2 separate regions of the Homo sapiens genome follow, and region 2 is linked to region 1. Evidence: promoter capture Hi-C in 16 types of primary human blood cells and fetal thymus (Javierre and others, 2016). All regions are on one chromosome and are shown on one strand. Each heading gives the region's core, a stretch centred on a gene start or on the middle of the fragment in contact. The rest is flanking DNA. Distances are from core to core; before and after follow the strand shown.

Region 1 (6,957 bases), core at 3,456-5,955:
ACAATGATGTTAAACTTGCCTGGAGAAAAATCCTAAGTTGGAGAAAATTTCCATTTGAAACTATCTCTCTCCATGCATATAGTTACAGGACAAGGAGATTCTGTGGGTTTAATTAAAATATTTTCAGTGGCAACTTTCTTATCTTGTTTCTTTCTTAAGAAAGAAAGACATTGCTCTGCAGGGACATGGATGAAGCTGGAAGCCATCATTCTCAGCAAACTAACACAGGAACAGAAAAGCAAATACCACATGTTCTCACTTATAAGTGCGGGTTGAACAATGAGAACACATGAACACAGGGAGGGGAACATCACATACCGGGGCCTCTCAGGGGTGGGGGACAAGAGGAGGGAGAGCATTAGGACAAATGCCTAATGTATGTGGGGCTTAAAACCTAGATGACGGGTTGATAGGTGCAGCAAACCACCATGATACATGTATACCTATGTAACAAACCTGCACGTTCAGCACATGTAACCCAGAACTTAAAGTAAACAAAAAAAGAAAAAGAAAGAAAGACATTGGAGTATTCTCTTGATAATTTATTTGTACTTTTTATAGAGTAGATCTTCCTATTTTCTTAATCATTGTATAATTTATTTTTCTCACTTTTTTCTTGTTGAGTAATAACTTTGAGGAAGAAGTTTATTATACCTGTTTCTTTATTCATTGCCATTTTGAACTTCATTTTGTTTTCTACTGGAAAAAATGAATAGCCTGACAATAAATGAACCAAGTAACAATAGAACAACATTGTTGTATTGGGATGGTTTTTTGCCACTTGCTGTTGGAAACATGAATTAGACAATCTATTTTAACTCTCATCTTTACATCCTCTACTGAGAAAATGGATGTTTCCTTTAAATGCCAGAGATTGAAAGTTTCATAAAGACTATCAATTATAACCCACTTTGCATCTATAAACACTGTTCATTATGCTTCCTTTGGCAAAGAGTTTTCTTATTTACCTTTGTGCCTTCAAAGTAGCATATAACAGATGTTCAATATGTGTTTATTGCATGGTCAGGAAAGGGAGGCTCAGAGTGGTTATTGATTTACTTATAGTCACCCAGCTTCTTAATGAAAAAACTTAGAATAAGCTATTAGCCTTCTGATTTTAAATTGACTACTCTTTCTAGTTTACTTTGCTTCTACTTCATTCTATTATTTTATTTCAGCAAGTACAATATATAAAAAAATTGCTATTTTGAATGTTGACTGCTTAGTTCTGAAATGAAACATGACTTTTTCTCAGGTAGGGTATTGTTTTTCCATTTATCTTGTGTGTATGTTTAGGAAAATCATTTGAAGGTTCTTTTTGTTGGGAAAGAGGAGGCCTGTTGAGCTGGTATAGTTGAAAGGTGAGTGGGTTAAACAGAGGGGAGACTTTTCAGCCAAATTTTTTAAAAAGGAGAATTTTGAATGTGTAAGTACTAGTAATTTAGAGAGTAGGGGCGTGGGAGAGGAAGGAGTCAGCAAAATGTCATTAAGTTAATACCCAAGAAGACACATGGCCAATAAATGCAAGGTCCCTCTGTGGGAAATGGTCAAAGAAGTTTTAGAAACTGCATTTTATTCCGAATTTGTATGCCATTCTGTAAAGTACTGTAATTATTCTGCATTATCCATTAAGCTTTGATTAAACACATAATCCACAGTGAATGTACATTAGTTTTGTCAAAAGATAAAATTATAACACATTTGATTTAAAGCTCTAATTGGCTTTTATTTGCCATTCTAGAATGGGGCAACACCTCATTCTGTAAAATAGAAGTAGGGGTATGGGAAAGAAAGGAGCCAGCAAAATGTCATCAAGTCAAGACTCAAAAAGACACATAACCAACCATTGATAATTGGTAGGCACCAATATGATTAGCCCAGTGTGTCAGAGATTGTTGCTGTTCACTGTTCTTCCAGAACACACATTTCCCAGTGTCTCCTGCAGTGCCGTGTGGCATGTGACTATTTTAGAGATGATGGATGCTATTCCAGGGCTACATTGTTCCCTTTTAACTTTCTCTTTGCCCTTTTCTGGGCTAGATGCAGATAACCAATGAAGCCACACTTAGGTGATGAAGCTATAACGAAAACCAGAGAGTGATTGCAATAGAATCAGGATAGAGAATGGAAGGATGGATGGAGCTACAATAAAAAGGGGGCACATAGAGGGCTCTGGGGTGCTGGTGATATTCTATTTATAGATCTGCATGGTGGTTAAAGCTGCTCATTTTATAGTAGGTGGAAGTATATATATTTTCTACATTTTTATATATGTATTTAAGCTAAATTTCACAATACAATAAGGTTATAAAACTTTGATTACAGCTATACTCAAGTGAACAGTAAACTAATCCATGAACAAGATTGAGAATAAGGCCTCAGTATGTGGGAACAACTTCCTAGTACAGATGGCTCACAGAAAGGAGAATCGGCAGAGGTAGGGTAACACTTTTAAAAAACTTAGAGTAATTCAGATCATAGCAAGGAAGAGATGATTGTCTTTACCACACCAGATGATAAATGTAGTCATTACTCTTGATGTCTGTGGGAGAAGAAAGTATAAATACAATCTCATGGTATAAATTTGTAGAGGGAGAGCATCAGGACAAACAGCTAATGCATTTGGGGCTTAAAACCTAATGCATTTGGGGTGCAGCAAACCACCATGGCACATGCATACCTATGTAGCAAACCTGCACGTTCTGCACATGTACACCAGAATTTAAAGTAAAAAAAGTAGTATGTTATATATCATTATGCTTAGCTTAATGAGTAATAAAGAGGGTAAAGTTCTCATTCCATAGCACGTAATTTTAAATTCTTAACCTTTCTACTTTATTGAGATAGTCTTTTCTAAAAGAAATACTCTAGGCATTATTTGTGATAGTTCTGTGATGAAAATAATTTGGGAATATATCAATATAGAAATGTTACGGATATAGGAAAGAATGTGCTTCAATCACTAGACCTATTATTAAGCAGCCTCCCTTGGGTGGCAATGCGGCTGTTAGGCAGGATTCATATCCAACACAGGGTCCATGCATGCACATCAGCCAATAGTAAGGGAGGGTTCCACAAGCCTGGCATGGGAACTAGGCAGGGAAGAGAAGGGGACTTAAGGCAGAAGCAGGAACCTGGACAAAGGAAAAGGCAGAGGCTCACGACAGAGGTGGGAACTTCAAGAAAGTGTCGGACATCATCTCAAAAACCCAGTGCAGAACTCTCAAGCTGCTGCTGGCTCACTCCCCTTCAGCAGCCAGCTCTGTCTCACCTTTCCAGAGTGTACTGTCTCTCTCTAAATAAGCTCTCTGCTATTTTTCTTCAACAAATTCTCTTTTTGGCTAATTCAGTCATTTGGTAGAATATTTTTCCAAGTAAGGCTAAAAATCTAGAATTCCTGAACTTCCCGTAACAGGGCTTGTTAGAGTTGCATTCTGGTAACTCTGATTCTCTTTCTCTTAGAGTATTCTCTAATTCCCCTAATTCAGAAACATGGCTGTCTTCTCAAGTGCTCTTGGAGATAACACCCCACCTGTCAGCTTTTAAATCGATATACATATTGAGTACCCTTAAAACACTGTAGAAGCAAATTTTTATAAATTTTTGTTTGTGATCATAAAAATATGTTTTTATGCAAAATAAAAGCAAACAACATCTCACTCTATGTATGGAGTTTTTCCTCCCTTGACATTTTTTCTCACTTTGGAAAAAAATTATGAAACCTGATGTCTTAGGTAATATACAGTGTTTCAGCTGAAAGCAACACACCCTGAATCCTTTGCTTAAACTTTAGGGGAAACGAAGTCAGGGAATAAGAAATCTCCAGTTCAGATCTCACAGCTTTGAAAGAGAAAGGTCAGTGAGAGTTTGGCCATGAATAATGGATAGCAGGAAAGGGCCAAGGAGGGAAGCGCTGAGTTGCTGATGGTTCAGGTCTTACACCTGAAAGTCAGCCTTACTTCTTTGCTTCTTTGCTGTTTCTGGAACAGGAAAGATCTAAACTAGAATCTCAGGATAGCCCTTGGCACAACATTTCTGTCAACCACATCCACACTGAGTACAAGAATCTCCTGGCCCACTCAAGTTTTCCATTCAAAGAACAGAAGTGAGCTAATGAGGGTCAGAATTGATTAGAACCATTTCCATACTTTTTTTTTTTGTACTAAGGTCTCTTTATAGACGTCTTTTATGTTTCTTATTTCCTAGTTTTAGCAAATGCTAATTATGTTGATTCATGTTGATGGGTAAGGAAACTGAAATGGACTACTTTTATATCATCAGAGCTGGATTAGAAGCCATGTTGTAACAAAGTCTGAAGGTTCTATTGGCATATGCTCAGATAAAGAAGGTAAGCAGTGTTGTTTTAATGGTAGCAATGACAAACTAATTAGATTTGGAAAGTTTGTGCTTCCTCCAGCAGTGAGGTAATTATGGGCATAAGCCTGGAAACAAAATGGGAGGACTCTTACTAAAAGAGGAGCATTCAACAGGGTTTTGGGTGAAATCAAGGTTCTTGGTTATACTCATAATATTTGCCCTTGATCTTGTAAGAGGTCCCTGAAAAGAGGCAATCATGGGACAGATGAGGCTCTCAGGAATGGAAGCAACCAACATGGGGCATGTCATTCTGCTTTGGGAATCAGAAAATAAATCTAATGTCTCTCTTTTCTCTTATTTCTTATTACACATAATACCTTAAAAGACATGGCTACTTCAAACCATTCTTCAGGGGCTGAGTTTATCCTGGCAGGCTTGACACAACGCCCAGAACTTCAACTGCCACTCTTCCTCCTGTTCCTTGGAATATATGTGGTCACAGTGGTGGGGAACCTGGGCATGATCTTCTTAATTGCTCTCAGTTCTCAACTTTACCCTCCAGTGTATTATTTTCTCAGTCATTTGTCTTTCATTGATCTCTGCTACTCCTCTGTCATTACCCCTAAGATGCTGGTGAACTTTGTTCCAGAGGAGAACATTATCTCCTTTCTGGAATGCATTACTCAACTTTATTTCTTCCTTATTTTTGTAATTGCAGAAGGCTACCTTCTGACAGCCATGGAATATGACCGTTATGTTGCTATCTGTCGCCCACTGCTTTACAATATTGTCATGTCCCACAGGGTCTGTTCCATAATGATGGCTGTGGTATACTCACTGGGTTTTCTGTGGGCCACAGTCCATACTACCCGCATGTCAGTGTTGTCATTCTGTAGGTCTCATACGGTCAGTCATTATTTTTGTGATATTCTCCCCTTATTGACTCTGTCTTGCTCCAGCACCCACATCAATGAGATTCTGCTGTTCATTATTGGAGGAGTTAATACCTTAGCAACTACACTGGCGGTCCTTATCTCTTATGCTTTCATTTTCTCTAGTATCCTTGGTATTCATTCCACTGAGGGGCAATCCAAAGCCTTTGGCACTTGTAGCTCCCATCTCTTGGCTGTGGGCATCTTTTTTGGGTCTATAACATTCATGTATTTCAAGCCCCCTTCCAGCACTACTATGGAAAAAGAGAAGGTGTCTTCTGTGTTCTACATCACAATAATCCCCATGCTGAATCCTCTAATCTATAGCCTGAGGAACAAGGATGTGAAAAATGCACTGAAGAAGATGACTAGGGGAAGGCAGTCATCCTGACAAAGAGGGTTCTCATTGGCAGCCAGAAAAAATAAACCATATAAAAAGTTGTTATAGGATCTTTGTAAGTTTCTGTCTCTCTCGGAGAGAGAAAAATTATCATCACTTAAAAATGTATATTTTATATTAGAGAATGATTAAGACATTTTTGGAGATTATGAAACAAAATTTTCTGATGGTCAATATAATCTTCGAAAATGTATTAGAGAAATGGGAGATGACAGAAGAGGAAGGGCAAATAAACATTAAAAACAATTTATTGAACATATTACTTTTGAAAGCCCAGGCTGGTCTTGAACTTCTGGCCTCAAGTAATCCTCCAAACTTGGCCTCCCAATGTGCTGGAATTAGAAGCCTGAGTCACGATCCTCAGCCTTGAAATAGTTGATTTAATGGATGACAGAGCATGATTCACAAAGACTTTTAAAGGCTGGAGTGATAGTCGCATTTAATGAGATTTTAAAAATGTACATGGGTAATATAAGATTCTATACTTCTATAAAAATGGAGAGAGTGGGAAAAACTTTATTTAACTCCAGAGAATTAAGGATTTTTGACAATATAAGTAAAAAGCATAACTACCTAGAAAGTTACTGTTACCTTGTCTGCATTAGCTACATTTTAGTATTTAGAATGAGGAACATTCTAGTTATCACTTGCACAACAGCAATTAGACTGTGTCCACTTGAAAGTAATTTACTTTGTTGATATTACTATTTAAGAGGCCACTGGCATTCTGAAATATATTCTGAGACGCATGGCCATGATGAAGCAACTTGAAATCACACATTCATTGATTTGTTTATTCTTTGGGTCATTCATTTAAGGAATACTCATTGAATGCCCACTACATACCTGTCACTATTCCTCATACTGGTGATAAAGAGATGAACAAAAGTCACAAACTCCTTGCCTTCATTAGATTTAGGTTTTAGCCTGAAAGAAAGGCAATAAACAGGGAGAAAAATACATCATAGAATCTCAGATCATAAAATGTCTTAGAAAATAAAGCCAAGAGGATAGAAATTGCTCACAGATATTAGAGGATAATTAAGTTACACATAGGAGTTACACACAGAAGGGCTGTAGGCTAGTTATTGAGGTTTTAGTAGTTCTTGCCACAGAGCACAAGTAGGCTAAAGAAGACTCTTCCAAAAATCAGAACTATCAAAAAATAATTAGCTATCTTGGGAATTTATGAACTATCCAGCAGTAGGGATTTAAGTACATATTCCAGACAGAATATTCAACCATTCTGTCTGGAATATTTCTGAGAAGAATCAAATGCTGGCTAAGAATATGACCAAACTGATCCCT
Region 2 (6,218 bases), core at 2,641-5,140, 670 kb after region 1:
GGATAGTGAGAGAAGATATGAAGAACAAGAAACAGGGTGATGAGATAGAGAGTAGCTTCAGGTGAGGAAGGTAGCAGGAAACAAGCTTAGAGTGACCAGGGAATGTCACTCTAGGGTGAAGTCATTTGAGGCAAGACCAAAATGACAAGAAACCAGCCATAGAATGAAGAATGTTCCAGGAAGAGGGGACATCAAATGCTAAGGCTATAATAATAATGATGGGAAATATTAATAGTGGGGAAGAGTTTGATAACTATGAGGTACATTTCTTTAAAATTAAGTGTAATTGGAACATGGTGGACAAGACAGAGAGTGGTAGAAATGAGTGTGGAGAGATAGCCAGGGCACAAGGCCAACATTAGGCCATGGTGACAAGTCTAGATTTTATTTCAGTGTAGTGAGATGCCATGGAAGGGCTTTAAGCAAGAGAAGTTCCCATCTTTTAGAATACAAAGACTGTTCTGTCTACTCTTTGGAGAATAGAGCATATGGTTTCACCCATTAACTGTGAAGGGAGAATGATTATTAAATTGGGAGGCCAAGTCAACAACAATGAGAAAGGATTGAAGCCAAAATGGCAGAAAAGAGGAAGGGAGAGCTTAATTTAAATGATTTTAAAACTCTCAGAACAAGGCCAAGAGTACTTCAGGGAACTTAAGGTACTTGCAAAAGTGACTGAGAGTGACAGCCAAAAATCAAGGGAAACAGCAGGAGAATGAAAAGACTAAATGCTCCTATTTTCAATACAGGAGAGGGAAGAAGTGGTATATGAAAAATAGAGGTGAAATCCTGACAGTGACTATTTACAATGGGGTTGATAAACAATTAGAAAACAACATTATGAATATTAGCAATTCACATGAATAGACATAAGAAAAATTTTGTAAAGCTGAGCCAATTCCTGCTGTGGTAGTTGATAAAATTATCAGACTGAAAATATTTCAGTCTGTCTGTGTATTTCAGTCTTGGTAAGGCTTTCAATAAAGTCATAGAACCTCAAAGACGATAGGAACTTTAACATAATCTATTCCAAATTTCTAACCTTTACAGGTTTTCCTTCCTAAACATCCCAGCAGTTGTTTGGATAACAACTGCTTGGATGTAACGAAAGGTAATTTGTCCTACTTTGGAAAGGTTTGAAATGTATTGCTGAAAATCTGTTTTTGTGTTAGTGTAAGCCATTGATCCTATTTCTTTCCTGTGGATGACTAGATGTCTAATTCCTCTCACAGATTCCTTTTATTCTAAATTTTCAGAATGTCTCATGCTGTACATATAAAAAATAGGGAGCTATGTTTGGGTTTTATGATTGAGCAACTGTTCTAAAGAATTTTAATTAGGCCAGGTGCAGTGGCTCATGCCTGTAATCCCAGTGCTTTGGGAGGCCAAGGCGGGCAGATCACCTGAGGTCAGGAGTTTGAGATCAGCCTGGCCAACACGGTGAAACCCCCTCTCTACTAAAAATTCAAAAATTAGCTGGGTGTGGTAGTGGGCACCTGTAATCCCAGCTACTTGGGAGGCTGAGGCGGAATGATTGCTTGAACCTGGGAGGTGGAGGTTTCAGCGAGCCGAGGTCACACTACTGCACTCCAGCGTGGGCAACAAGAGTGAAACTCCGTCTCAAAAAACAAACAAACAAACAAAAATGTTAATTAGTAGCTCATTGTCAAGGTAGAATGAGGTCTTTAGAAGCAGGCCATAGGACTATCTCTTCTTTTTTTCTATTGGTTCTTTTTTTAAATATCCATGTGTGGATCATGTGATTGTCAAGCCTAGAGATGAAACAAGGGTAAAGAAGAGAGATATATTGGGTGATTGAATCTGAATTCAATAAAAGTATTAACACAGTGTGATAACTGGTTGAAACTAATAAATTTTAACAGCAATAAGTGCAAAGTTTCATAATAAAATTTCCAAAATTGCCTGTACAAGACACAATGACTCTGCAACAAGTCAAGTGAAGAATACTCAGGGATTTTAATTGAACATAAGCTGATTATGACTAAGATGTGGCTGTAAATGTATTTAACTAGTTATATCCTTCAAAGCAAATGTAGCCATAATTCCACTGGATTTATGCTGGTCAGACCACACAGGGACCATCAGTTCCTGTTCTGGACGTCACTTGGAGAATCATGCTGAGAAACTGAAAGTCCTTCTGAAAAAGCAGCCAGGGTGGTACAGGATTGGAAACTACTAGAAAATACATTGGAAGAAACTAAGGAAGAGTAGCCACAAACAAAAATGTCTTAGGGCGGATGTGAGGAAGCATAGCTCTTTTAAAGAGAAAACAGCATTAGGGCCACTTAATGGAGTTTGGAGGGGGAGGAGGAGTGTACGGAATTCAACTGAACATAAAGAACTTCCTTAAGCATCAGAAGAGGTGAACTTGTGATGTAGAAAGTTCTCATCACTAAAAAGATCAAGGCCAGGCGCGGTGGCTCATGCCTGTAATCCCAGCACTTTGGGAGGCCGAGGCGGGTGGATCTCCTGAGGTTGTGAGTTTGAGACCATCCTGACCAACATGGAGAAACCCCATCTCTACTAAAAATACAAAATTAGCCGGGTGTAGCAGCGTATGCCTGTAATCCCAGCTACTCAGGAGGCTGAGACAGGAGAATCACTTGAACCCGGGGGACGGAGGTTGCGGTGAGCCAAGATCGCGCCATTGCACTCCAGCCTGGGCAAGAAGAGCAAAACCCCGTCTCAATAAATAAATAAATAAATAAATAAATAAATAAATAAATAAAATCAAGTCCATTCGTCCGAAATGTTCTTGGGGGAAGTCACAAATTGGAAAAGCGGTTGAATTAGGTCAACTTTAACTTCCCATCCAAATTTAACACAGTATACATGCTTCAAGGCCTAGTCCTCCAAACAGCACAGAGTTTATGGCCTGGTGGCTCCCTGCCCAGGAAGATCCGACTGGGGACATTCTGTTACTCTGTGAGATGTCAGGAGGGAGCATTTCCTGCTTCTGGTCCACTCACCGTCAGCTGTTGCTCTGTTATTCCATTTTGGAATATCAGCGTTAAGCTTCCCCTTTTGGAAAGAGCAGAAGAGGAGAAAAAGGAAGCTGAAGAAGGGCTCTTGGATTACTCTTTTACTTCAGTTCCAGGCGTTCCTAATCTGTTATGTCAATTTGAGTTTATAGTTGAATGTAAAGTTTCAGGTTTCCCTTCCAGAGATGGGGCGGGGGCACTCAAACAGCTGCTAGGACTAGGGAGTGGCTAATAGTTGGAAGACGCCAAACACAATCTATCTGCTTTATTAAAAAGGAGTAATTAAAGGAAAAGGGAGAACTGCAAAGAACCTGGGGAAGGGAAGAGGAGTCCTCTTGGGCCCCCCTCCCCTTGCGCTGACATTTGGATCACCTCACTGAGTGATGAGGTGAAGACAGGAACAGGTGCGCCTCATCCCTACCCCATTTGCCCTAAACAGGGATTATCTTGCTGAGTTTGCTGTGTCCGGGGCCAATTAATCAAGGCTAGACAAAGGATAGACAGCGAGAACTGGAAGGCATGGGGTCTGGGAGGCGAAGCCAGGAACCGCGTACGGCGCGCCTTGCAGATGACATCATTGCCTGAAAGAGCTCTGGCCCTTCTCTTCCCGGAGCTACACCCGGCAAGTCCGTGCGGGAGCGGAGTGGGTTTGCCTGGAGGGCGTGAGCCGAGGGCGGCGGTGCGCCCGAGCTCGGGGGAGGTGCGGAGGCGCGAGAGGGAGACCTGGAGAGACCAGCGAGCGCGCGAGCAAAGATATCCCGGCTGGAAGTGTCTGCGCCGCTCCCGGCTCCGCCCCCGCTCGGCGCGGCGCTGGGCCTGGGAGGGGCACGCCCATCAGGGGGTGGGGAGTGTGCACTAGGGGGAGGGTCCGGGGCGGTGGTGGTGGCGGAGAGCCGCCTGCGCATGTCAGGGCTGACAGCACACACGGCCTGGGGGCCTAGAGAAGGGTTGCTGATCACCTGCCACCCAGGGTCGGGGCCCCGCACCATCCGGGGGCGAGCTCCCGGGAAGGGGCTCCGCCTCTACACCCACCCCCCAACCTCTGACATCGCCGGCCGAACGGGAGCTGCCGCTTCCTTCCCGGCCCCGCTGCACCTCCCCAGGGAGCCGAGGGCGGGCGTGGACGGGACCGACGTGGAACGCATTCTGTAGCCCAGACGGGCGGCCCCGGCGGCTTCGGGAGTGGGGTCACGCCCAGCTGGAGAAGCAGTTAGGGCGGACGAAGCAGGAGCCGCGGGGCTGGGAGGATTCCAGTCGGAACGCAACCGATCCTGGGGAGGCGAGAGGTGAATCAACCTGGACCCTTCCACAGCCTGGCTGCTAGGCCAGCAGTGCGACTCCCTTCCGAGCTGAGCTTACCCTGGGCGCAAACGAGCGAGGCAGGGGCGCGAGTGGAAGCTGGAGTTCCGGGGTGGGCGGGGAGGCGACTGTCCGTGGTGCTGAGCGCCGGCGAGAGCGGGCGCGGAGCGGCTGATCGGCTCCCTCGAACTGGGGAGGTCCAGTGGGGTCGCTTAGGGCCCAAAGCCCCCACCCGGCTCCAAAAGCTCCCAGGGCCTCCCCAGGCACCGGTGCTCGGCCCTTCCTTCGGTCAGAAAGTCGCCCCCTGGGGGCAGTTCGTCCCAAAGGGTTTCCTCGAAAGAATCTGAGAGGGCGCAGTCCTTGACCGAGGGAATCTCTCTGTGTAGCCTTGGAAGCCGCCAGCCCCAGAAGATGCCTGCCTTCAATAGATTGTTTCCCCTGGCTTCTCTCGTGCTTATCTACTGGGGTAAGTACCAGCACCTCGCCATGCCGGATGCAGGTAACAGTAACAATGCTAACAATAATAACACATTGATGTCGTTGGTGACAGAAAAGAGCTCTGGCTGGCTTGCCTCTGTGCGTATCTGCCAGACATGGAGATGGCAGGGGTTCCATGAGAGCTGGGATTTTGAGATGGGAAAGGCGCCTCCCCACCGCCCTTCCCCGCTATTCTCCAACCTCCTTTGGTGGTTCTTCCGCCCTTCCTCCAGTTTCCTGATCATTCCAAAGTATTTTTTCCCTTTCCCTTTGCTGAAAGGAAATGCAGTCACGTTCACGAATAAAAACCTCCTGTGTGGTTACATTTTATTTCTCATCAAGGAGTCTATACTCCTGGAAAGCTTACTGGGTCTTCAAATTCGTTTCTGTATATTAAAAAAAAAAAAAAACCATAAAAGCTGGATGCATGAATTTTGAGAGTGAAAATACTTTAGTTGCTCATCATCTTCTTAATTTTAACAAGGAATGGGAAGAAAACAGCCTTCAGCCATTTACTGCTATATATTAAATAAATAGGCAACTGTGAAATGCATCTTTCTTTTTCTTCTTCTTCTTTTTTTTTTGGTTTGTTTGTTTGTTGCATGAACCTGTGGAACTAAGATGCTTTGGTGTTAGGGGAGGAGAGCTGGGTTTTTGCCTTCAAAGGTGAATAGATTCTTGCTTGTCAGCTGTGAGAAACTGAGGTGACCTTCCCCCTCCAAATAAGGGAATCTTACACTTGGAACAGTAAAGGCTGAAGAGAGTGTCAGAGACGGTCTTGGAGTGCCTGAATGTGTGTAAAGGGGATTGATCTATGTGATAATGTCTGATTGTGTGATTGAGACAATGTTTTACTGTATGTAAATATATTTCAGTGTCTGGATGTGTGCACTAGCATGTGTGTGAGCATGTTGGCATAGACATCTGAATGCATGGGTGAGTGTAGTAGTATGTGTATGGCAGGGGTGGGGGTGGTAGTTCTGGGCATGTCTGCCTTGGTGTCTATGATTAGATCCTCAGATAAAATATAGGTTCTCTTCAGCAGACAGATTGCTTTACATGATCTTAGCTACCTTTCTCCGTGCAAAAATCAATACACAGGGTAATTGGACACAATTGTACCCACCTGCCTCCCTGAAACGAGGCATGTGAGCTTATGTTCCCATGGTTGGCATGAAACTCATCCTGCCTATACGGTGGCAGACATGCTGATGGGAGCTGCCTCTTTGCTTTAGTATTACTTTTTCAAGCCTCCAGGACTAACTCTAGCTGCCAGCATTATCTGGATTTTGCATGTGACCAGAGGCAGAGCCAAGCTTCCTGTCAAAATGCCTGATGAGACGGACTAGGAAGGTTGAGGAGGGAGGTAATGTCAGCCCCAAAGGCGGACTCATCACCAGCCATCCCCAGTAGAGTAGACCAGACCTGGAGATGGAGCAG

What was found. Contacts are between HindIII fragments. The CHiCAGO score rates a contact against its expected background, and 5 or more counts as called.
Region 2: the fragment with the promoter of SCN3B here is called in contact with the fragment with the promoter of OR8D2 in region 1 in 2 of 17 cell types (erythroblasts and total B cells); the score reaches 9.0 in erythroblasts.

What each region holds. Positions count from the first base shown.
Region 1 is chr11:124,317,945-124,324,901 of GRCh38, reverse strand. OR8D2 (olfactory receptor family 8 subfamily D member 2) reads left to right here and starts at 4,705. Exons shown (of 1, transcript NM_001002918.1): 1 at 4,705-5,640. The coding sequence starts at 4,705. The coding sequence ends at 5,640. It overlaps LOC112268069 (a long non-coding RNA gene), which reads right to left. Exons shown (of 3, transcript XR_002957213.2): 2 at 6,496-6,576; 3 at 1,678-2,078. It also overlaps the pseudogene OR8B7P. The HindIII fragment of the contact is 6,670 bases long and covers 1,636-6,957 here.
Region 2 is chr11:123,652,296-123,658,513 of GRCh38, reverse strand. SCN3B (sodium voltage-gated channel beta subunit 3) reads left to right here and starts at 3,890. Exons shown (of 7, transcript NM_001040151.2): 1 at 3,890-4,288; 2 at 4,688-4,767. The coding sequence starts at 4,713. It overlaps LOC105369543 (a long non-coding RNA gene), which reads right to left and starts at 4,829. Exons shown (of 3, transcript XR_948124.4): 1 at 4,362-4,829. RefSeq lists silencers at 3,647-3,876, 4,437-4,506. The HindIII fragment of the contact is 2,104 bases long and covers 3,039-5,142 here.